Regions from separate parts of the Homo sapiens genome. Here region 1 is linked to region 2. The links are contacts of gene promoters, found by promoter capture Hi-C in blood cells and fetal thymus (Javierre and others, 2016). All regions are on one chromosome and are shown on one strand. The core of a region is centred on a gene start or on the middle of the fragment in contact, and the rest is flanking DNA. Distances in the headings are between cores, read along the strand shown. Region 1 overlaps SLC9A8 (solute carrier family 9 member A8). Region 2 holds the start of KCNB1 (potassium voltage-gated channel subfamily B member 1).

The links. Contacts are between HindIII fragments. The CHiCAGO score rates a contact against its expected background, and 5 or more counts as called.
Region 1: a contact is called between a fragment that was not itself captured here and the fragment with the promoter of KCNB1 in region 2, in 1 of 17 cell types (endothelial precursors). The highest score is 5.2, in endothelial precursors.

The regions. Positions count from the first base shown.
Region 1 is chr20:49,866,827-49,871,199 of GRCh38, forward strand. The region is part of intron 10 of SLC9A8 (solute carrier family 9 member A8); the gene reads left to right. Among named protein-coding and RNA genes, the nearest start is that of MIR12122, 5.2 kb to the left of the region's middle. RefSeq lists enhancers at 924-1,033, 1,274-1,323. The HindIII fragment of the contact is 5,734 bases long and covers 1-4,373 here.
Region 2 is chr20:49,479,658-49,484,007 of GRCh38, forward strand. It overlaps KCNB1 (potassium voltage-gated channel subfamily B member 1), which reads right to left and starts at 3,011. Exons shown (of 2, transcript NM_004975.4): 1 at 2,257-3,011. The coding sequence starts at 2,823. The HindIII fragment of the contact is 15,223 bases long and covers 1-4,350 here.

The DNA of each region.
Region 1 (4,373 bases), core at 1,468-3,967, 390 kb after region 2:
GGTTATTTCCTGTTGCCGTATCTTCAAAGTCACTGATCTTCTGCCATGTGGAATCTCCTGCTAATCCTACCCAGCGTATTTCTCATTTACATATTTTATAATTCATCTACAGCAGATCCCTTTAGGTTATTTTCATTTCTTCCATTTCTCTCTTCATCATGTTCATGTTTTCTTCTATATTCTGGAGCATATGAAACATAGAAATTTCTGATAGCTGTTTTAATGTCCTTGTTTGCTAATTCCGTCATCTCTGTCAACTGTAGGTCTGTTTTGTTGTTGATTTTTCTTGTGCTTATAGGTCACATTTTCTTGCTCTTTGCTTGTTATTAAGTTTTGATTGGATGTCAGTCATTGTGAAGTTTTATGTTGTTGAGCACAAGATTTTATTGTATTCCTTTACGGAGTTCTGGACTTTTCTTTTAAAAACAATTTTTTTTGTGTGTGTGTGTTATTTCTGGACTTTTCTTCTGGCACGTATCTAAGTCTCTTGACATCAGTTTAATCCTTCTTGAGGCTTACATTTAAACTTTTTTAGGGCTGGTGCAGAGTAGCAGGGCCCTAACTAAGGTGTCTCAGGTACCGTGAGCTCACTCCACTCTGGCTGGTGGGAACGCAAACTATTCCCACCCATGTCAGCTTCTGGAATTGTTCAGCCTACTTCTTTTTAATGGTTCTTTCCCCAGCTTCTTGTTTCATCCGACATATTTACTGATCAGTATCAGTCAAAGACTCAAGGGGACTTTACAGTAGATGTCCAAGAGCTCTCTTTCTGTGCAGCTTCCCCGACTCAACAGGACAGCCCTCTTAAAGCCTCAGCCTCAGGCAGTCAGCTCAGCAGGGGGCCTAGGGAAAGAGTGGCCACCTTTGTCTCCCTTCCGGCAGGAATCACAGTCCTACCCTATCTTTTGTCCCATGTCAGAAAATAGTTTTGTTTCATATCTTGTATCAGGTTTTCTAGTTATGTAGAGCAGGACAGTGTTCTGTGTAGCAGTAATTTCTTCAGACGCAAAGCTGAAGGCCCAGTGGTCTCTAGTGACTCAGTTGACAGAACTTTTCTACCCAGTCGCTATCCGGAGTCACACTTGGGTGCTGCATGAGCAGCACAAGGAGGAAGCAGAGTGGACTCACCATTTTCAGGGTTTTGTTTTTCATCGCAGACCAGTTCACCAGGGTAATTCCATCCTGGTGTCTGCCATGAGGTTCCCTTTCTTTACTGAATGTTGGCACTTACAAAAACGTTACCTGTGAGTCATTCGGCTCTAGCCTAGCTATTTTTACATCTGTTTTTCTAAATTGTTCCTCTACCCCCTTGAGAAGATCATTGAGTACCTGTTGGCAAAGATGTGTTTCATGCATCTGTTTGGAATCTGTGATTAAAATAAGGGAGTGTTTTTCTTACCTTCTTTTCAGACTGGCAGTGTTTCCTGTTGAGAGGGGTTTCATTTCCTTAGGGACCTTGCTCCACACACAGCAGTGCAAGCCAGGAACACCAGATCTGCCTCTGGGTGAGGGAACCTGCTCTGTCCGCACTTTGCCTTTTGGGTATTTGTCACGCAGGGTTTTCAGAGAGGGGCAGGATGGCCCTGTGTGGTGTGTGGACGCCCCACATTGCACTGTGAAAGCACAGATGGAAAGGGTGGTTTCTGCTGTCTTCACCTTCCTTTGTGTGCTCCCCTTTTCCTGACTATCACAAAGGACTGATCTCAAGTGGTTCCCAAGACCATGGAGCAGGACATTCTCTTCCTAGGAAGTGGGAATTATTTACCTAAATCCACATGTAGGGAACACAGTTGCTAAGGACTGGGGCTGGATAACAGACAGACTTGGATTTGAATCCCAGCTCCACCTCTTATTGGCTGTGTAACCTCAGATTACAGACTTAACCACCCCATGCTCTACTTCCTCATTATAAAATAGACAAAAGGGCCAGCCTGACGCCTTTGCTGAGGAGTGGGGAGCGATGCAAGTGAGAGTCCTGATGGGGCATCTGTGCCACTGCTGGGGTGGCCAGAAGTCCTGGTTTGCCCTCTGTCTCAATATGATGAATTAATAATATCCCCGTTTATTCTAAAAAATGTCCTGGTATCCACAGCAAATCAAACAGTCTCCCTAATTATAACTCAGCAAGCGTTAGCTATTCTCAGAATATTTGTTCTGACTGTATCCATGTTAACTATTTTTATTGTTCAGTCAAGCCAGTTTTGAGGGCCACTTTGGCCTCTGACACTAAAGATTCAAAGATGAATAGACCCCACTTAGGCAGAGCAGTTAGCGAACACTGGGCTTGCAGGGGATGGGAGAGAGTGACACTCTGTCAAGGTGAGTCACAGAGGAGGGGACTTTGGGCTTGAAGGATGAGTTTGCAAGATTAATCATGAGATAACACTTTCTTTCTTTCTTTCTTTCTTTTTGAGGCAGAGTTTCGCTCTGTAGCCCAGTCTGGAGTGCAGTGGTGCCATCTCGGCTCACTGCGACCTCTGCCTCCCAGGTTCAAGCAATTCTCTGCCTCAGCCTTCCGAGTAGCTGGGATTACAGGTGCCCACCACCACGCCCGACTAATTTTTTTTTTGTATTTTTAGTAGAGACAGGGTTTCACCATCTTGGCCAGGCTGATCTTGAACTCCTGACCTCGTGATCTGTCCGCCTCGGCCTCCCAAAGTGCTGGGATTACAGGCGTGAGCCACCGCGCCCGGCCAACATAACACTTTCTTAAGATGTTGGCATGGGCCAGGCGCAGTGGCTCACACCTATAATCCCAGCACTTTGGGAGGCCAAGGCAGGTGGATCACGAGGTCAAGAGATCAAAACCATTCTGGCTAATATGGTGAAACCCCATCTCTACTAAAAATACAAAATATTATCTGGGCATGGTGGCACGTGCTGGTAGTCCCAGCTACTCGGCAGGCTGAGGCAGGAGAATTGCTTGAACCAGGGAAGCAGAGGTTGCAGTGAGCCGAGATCCTGCCACTGCACTCTAGCCTGGCGACAGAGCAAGACTCCATCTCAAAAAAAAAAATAAAATAAAAATAAAAAGATACTGGCATGAAGTTGGCCAAAGATAGAATGTATGGTGCAGTGCTCTTCTGCACAGATATCTAAGGAATTCCATTGCAGCACTGCTTGGGAGAGAAAAACTGGAAGGAACTATATGTTCATCAGTAATGGAAAAGATCAAATTCCAGTCCATTTGCACTATGGAATCCTGTGCAGCTACTTAAAAAATGAACTTGACCTGTCTGTACTGCCATGGAAAGAATTTGACATATTGTTAAATTTTTTAAAAGTAAGTTGAAAAATCAAACTCTCGCCCATTCAAGAAATACTTATTAAATGTCCACCCTATGCTGAGAACTATCCTTGCTGTTGGGGCTACATTTATAAACAACACAAGATCAGTTTCCTTTTCTTGCAGAAGAAAGCCAGAATTTAAGCAAACCCATACAACAATTCCAGGTGGCAAGAAATGACAAGAAGAGAAATTAAAGCCATGTGACAGAGAGTGGCATGTGGTAGAGAATGGATGGGATCTCAGGCAGTCAGGGAGGTCTCCCCTGGAGGTGGCACTGGAGCCCAGACCTGTGTGGCGAGAGGAGCCAGCCCAGGGACGCTCTAGGGAAGGAGGGTTTTGGCAGCAGGAACTGCAGGAGCCAGGGGTCTGAAGATAGATGTGCGGGAGTGTGGCATGCTCCAGGAAGAGAAGGAAGACCAGTGTGGCCAGGACGCTGCCTCACAGGTTCTGCAGGCCTGAGAAGGAGCTGGGTTTCTAGTATATGCACCACGACAAGAGAGTTGGAAGCCCTTGAAAAAAAATCACTCTGCTGGTAATAGGCACCATATATGTGATAGGATCCTGTTTATTACTTTAGTTTTATTTTATTTTAATTTTATTTTTTGAGACAGGATCATGCTCTGTTACCCAGGCTGGAGTGCAGTGGCACAATCACGTCTCACTGCAGCCTTGACCTCCCCAGGTTTAGGTGATCCTTCCACCTCAGCCTCCTGAGTAGCTGGGACTATAGGCACGTGCTACCACACCCAACTAGTTTTGTATTTTTTGTAGAGCCAGTCTCACTCTGTTGTTCAGGCTGGTCTCAAACTCCTGGGCTCAAGCAATCCACCCACTTTGGCCTCCCAAAGTCCTGGGATTACAAGTGTGAGCCACCATGCCAAGCCTATTACTTTAAAGATAAACTTTATAATCACATGGTAAAAGAACTGGCAGTCTGCATATTGAAGTGTTAATAGTAGTTAAGAGTAGTTACGTCTGAGCGGGCAGTATGAATAGATTGTCTTTTACTCTGTACCTCAGTGAGTCTGAATGTTTTATGGCAAAATATGTTTATTATTGAGTAATTAACACAGCGTACTCATTA
Region 2 (4,350 bases), core at 1,761-4,260:
GGGAAACTTCTGGAGGATTTTAAGCAGATGAATAATGTGATCCAATTTACATTTTGAAAAGCTCACTTTGGCTGCTATGTGGGGAATGGATTGCAGGGGCAAAAGTGGAAGCCGGGAGACTGGGGAGGAGGCTGCGGCACTTGATCATTATAGAAAGAACACTCGGTTTGGATTTCTGGCTACTCCTGACTGCCTGTGGTGTGACCTTAGGCAAGTTACTTAACCTCTTTCAGCCTCACTGTTTGCGAAAGGTGGGATAATAACAGAGCTGCGTTGTTACACTCCATACACAGTAGGTGTTTGATCATTGGCAGCCAGGATTTCTATTCTGAGGGCCAGTGAGCCTGCCTCCCTCCCCATTTCAGCTCTGGCTACAGAAAATCCTAGATGGTCCATCTGCCAGGAATGTGAGCTGGCAGCCCCAGACTGGGATCATGGAGAGGTCACAAGGCTGTCCCTGCTAGCGGATTAACCCAAGGGAGAGGAGAGGTTCTTTATTCCCAAACAGCACCTCTTGCAAGCCCCGGTGCTTGGGTCTTGCTGCCAGACCAAAACATGGCCCTGTGCCTGCTTCTTCTCTGGGAGGGCAAATTGTCCAGTTCCCTGTACCTTGTTCTCATGTCTTAGGGATGGGACAGGGAGGGAGAGTCACATTTGGGCCTAAATGGGATGTGCAGTGGGAGAACCTGTGTCATGCCTGGAAATAGCAAAATAAGTCTGTTGATCCTAAGCTGATTAAGGGTGAGTGACTCTGTCTTAGGAGGAGGCTTTTTGGACACAAAATTGGGGGCGGGATTATGGAGAGAGACAGCCCACAGCCTCAGAGGAGGAAGCCAGGCCCAGGAGCCTCTACATCCTTGTTAGGGCCAACAGGGAAACGAAAAAAACACGTGGGGGCTCCCTCCACCCTCTTACCAGCCACCCCTTCTCCATCCACTCTCAGGGGCCTCTCCTTGGGTGGCTAGATCTGGAGGAAGGACCCCACGGAGTCTCCCTTCAGACTGGGACCTGCAGGTGGGCCTTCAGTGAGAACTGAGCCGGAGACCCCACAATGAAAGGCTGGGCTGGACAGGAGTCAGCCCTAGCTAGTAAGATATGGCTGGATATTTAGGCTTCCTCCTCTCCTCTTTCTTTTACCACAAATCTACTTACCTGACCCCTTTTTTTAGGCCCCACACTCAGTTACATTCTCCCCATGTTTCCCAAGTTGGTCTTGCTGGATTTCAACATCAACATCTCTCTTTTCTGGGTTCTCCGTGAACCTCACAGAACCTCTTTTATAGCCTTGCACACACTGTTTTGTCATTTGCTCCCAGCACCCAGCACTTCGGGCACATGAAGACAGGCCCCATCTTTCCCAGGCAACCCCAAATCCCAGCCTGACGTAGAGAAGTTGCTGATCAACCAGTGCCCTCCTGCCCTGCCTTGGCTCCCACCCCAAGCCTTCCTCAGTCCCCTACAGCCCCTGCCATTACCCAGCAGCACCAAAGACTCTCTGGCCCACTCTTTGTGTTCAAACTCATTCCTGCCTCCTCCTCCTCCTCCTCCTTTATTTTTCACATTGCCTCATTTTTCTCTCCTATTTTGAAATTTACATCTTGTTCCAAGAGCTGAAACATCTTTACAAGCTGCACCAAACCATTCTGGAAATAAACTCACCAAATAAATAAGTAACCAGGGGGTGACCCCTCACCCGCAAGCATCCACAACCAACTGCATGTGTCGTGTGGGTCCACACCCACCCCTCGGGGTCCCTTCTTACTTATGTTTAAACTATCTGACAGTATCTCAATGTCCTGTAAGCATGTCTGTAAGCTGCTTTTTTCCCTTGCTGGGGCAGAGTGAGGTTATAAATATGGAGATATTAAAATCACAGGGTGATCCAATCCAGCCTAGGTCTGGGACTTCACAGGGAAGCAAACCCTACTCCACCCCAGCAAGCCACTGTTGTCTCTCTGTGCTCTCTCTCTTATTCGTCAGTGTCCATCTTCTTGCTGTGGCTTTTTATGGGTCCCTGTGAAACCTCTCCAACCAAGTAGGGGTATAACGTCTTGGATAATAAAAAGATGGAGTGACCAGTGCCACATGGGAAAAGTCTGAGGGGGTTGGTCCTCACCTCTGGGGACTCAGTCCTAGCCCCTCCCCATTACTAATCTTCATCGTTGGGAACAAAGCCAGAGTCCTCCAGCAGTGGTCCTCAATATGGGGATGCAAGCAGATCCCCCCAGACCAGCAGCCCCCAGATCCCAGACTCACCTTGGCAGCCACAGAGGAATTGGGCTTCTCCAGTAGGTCCCAGAGTTTTTTCCTCTTCTCTGCGCAGCACGTGTTATCGAACTCCTCGCCTTCCCGCTCCCGTAGGGTCTCGGCCTCACGCTTGAGCTCCTCGTTCATCTGCTCTTTCTTCTGGTGGTAGCGGGCCTGGCAGCAGGACTCCAGGTAGATCTCGTCGATGCCCCAGTAGTCGAGCTCTTGGCTGAAGCTGAGCGCGCACATCTCCTCCATCATGTGCAGTCGCCCAGTGCGGTAGAAGTTGAGGATGGAGGTGAAGGCGCCCGGGTGGCGGTCAAAGAAGTACTCGTTGTCGTCGAGGCTGTAGTCATCGCACACCTCGAGCAGCGAGTCGTGCGTGTTGCAGTCGCGGAGCTTGCCCAGCCGCGTGCGGGGCAGGCGGTCCAGGGTACGCCAGAGTACCTCGTGCGCCAGCCCCCCGACGTTGAGGCGGACCCGCCGAGAGCACGCCTTGCTGCGCACGATCTCCATGGGCTCGGGCGGCAGCGAGCTGGTGGAGCGGGAGCCATGCTTCGTCATGCCCGCCGGCATCGCTGATCCGGCCGCCCCCGCCCCCCCTGCCCCCCCAGGCCGCTGTCACTCGACGGCAAGGCCCGCTGCTGCGGGGGAGGGGGGCAGGGAGCGCTGTGGGCTGCTGGGGGTGCAGGGGGCCCCGCGGGCGCGCGTCACGGCCGTCTTCTCACCTCCATCCCGACGGCTGCGAGGCAGAAAGCGAAAGCGGACGCGGGTCAGCAAACGGGGAGCTGGGCATGCTGTCCCCCCGCCCCCCACCTCTCCACCAGGCTCCCAGCCGGCCTTGACCTTCCCCCGCGCTTAAGCGGCTCAGTGGGGTAGGACGGATGGTCGCTGTCCCTCCCGCCGGTGCTGAAGTCCGCCGCACCCCATGGATGGAGGGAGGGGCCGCCCCTCGGGGCGGGGAGAGGGCCCCAAGAGATGCCCCTGGAGCCCGGGAGGCCCCACCCTGGGCTTCTGCGGCCCAGGCGCGACCCAGCCGCCCGGGGCGCTGTCCGCCCCTTAGAGTGCTGAAACTCTCTTCATTATGGGTCTCCCGATCGAGTCCCGAACCTGGCCCCGCCATGGGGAGAGAGGGGGAGCTGCATGAAAACTTTCTTTCTTTATCTTTTTCTTTCTTTCTTCTTCTTCTTTCCTTCTTTTTTTTTTTTTTAACGAGTTCTCTTCTTTTCCTTCCCCTTCTCGAGATAATCAAGATTTTGGGGGTGGGGGAATGGCAGCGGGCTTTTTTCCAAATCTTAAAAGATTTGGGGGAATTCCGGGGGTTCCAGGTGCCCACCTGTCCGAGGTCACAACAGACGGGGTGTGCACAACAGCCCCTCTGTCCTGGAGCGACCCCTCTTCCCAAACACTGGAGCATCTCCTGAGATTGCTCCAGCGACAAGGTGAGCCGCGAGGAGGAAAAGCCCGCTCTCGCCTCTCCCTCTGAGCCCCCAACCCTACCGCAGGAGGGGCGGGCAGAGTCCTCGGGATCCGCCTGCTCCGTCCTCCCCTCGCTCCTTCCCCGCCCCCTTCTCCTCCTTCTCCTCCCCCTCCTCTTCCTTCTCCCCCTCCTCCTCCTCTTCCTCCTCCTCCTCCTCCTCCTCCTACTCCTCCTCCTCGTTCCTCTCCCGCGATGGCTTTTTATAACTCCGGGTTCTGCGCCTTTCCCCGGGCTTGGAAGGGAAGGGGTGGGGGAGGTGGGAGGCGGGGAAATGAGCTAAATTTTCTGGCCTTTTCAAAAGGTGCCATCCTCCTACCGCGCACTAGTGATTTCGGGGGGTTCCCCTGAGCACCCCCTGCATGTAGGGCTCACGCCTTAGCCCCAGAATGGGGATTGCGCGTCCCCTCAGGCCTCAGCCCTTGCCTGCCTCCCACCCCGCTCCCCTCCAGCCTGGAGCTGCGGAGCCCGAGCAGACCAACAGGCCGAGCTGCGGCAGGCAAACCCCCTGTCCGTGTCCCCATGCACCCCCACGGAAGGCCGTACGCCCCAACACTCACCCCCAGGGCGGCCGCCTCCTGGGGCCAGGGACCGCGCATCGTCCCGGCCGCCCGGGCGCCCCCGCC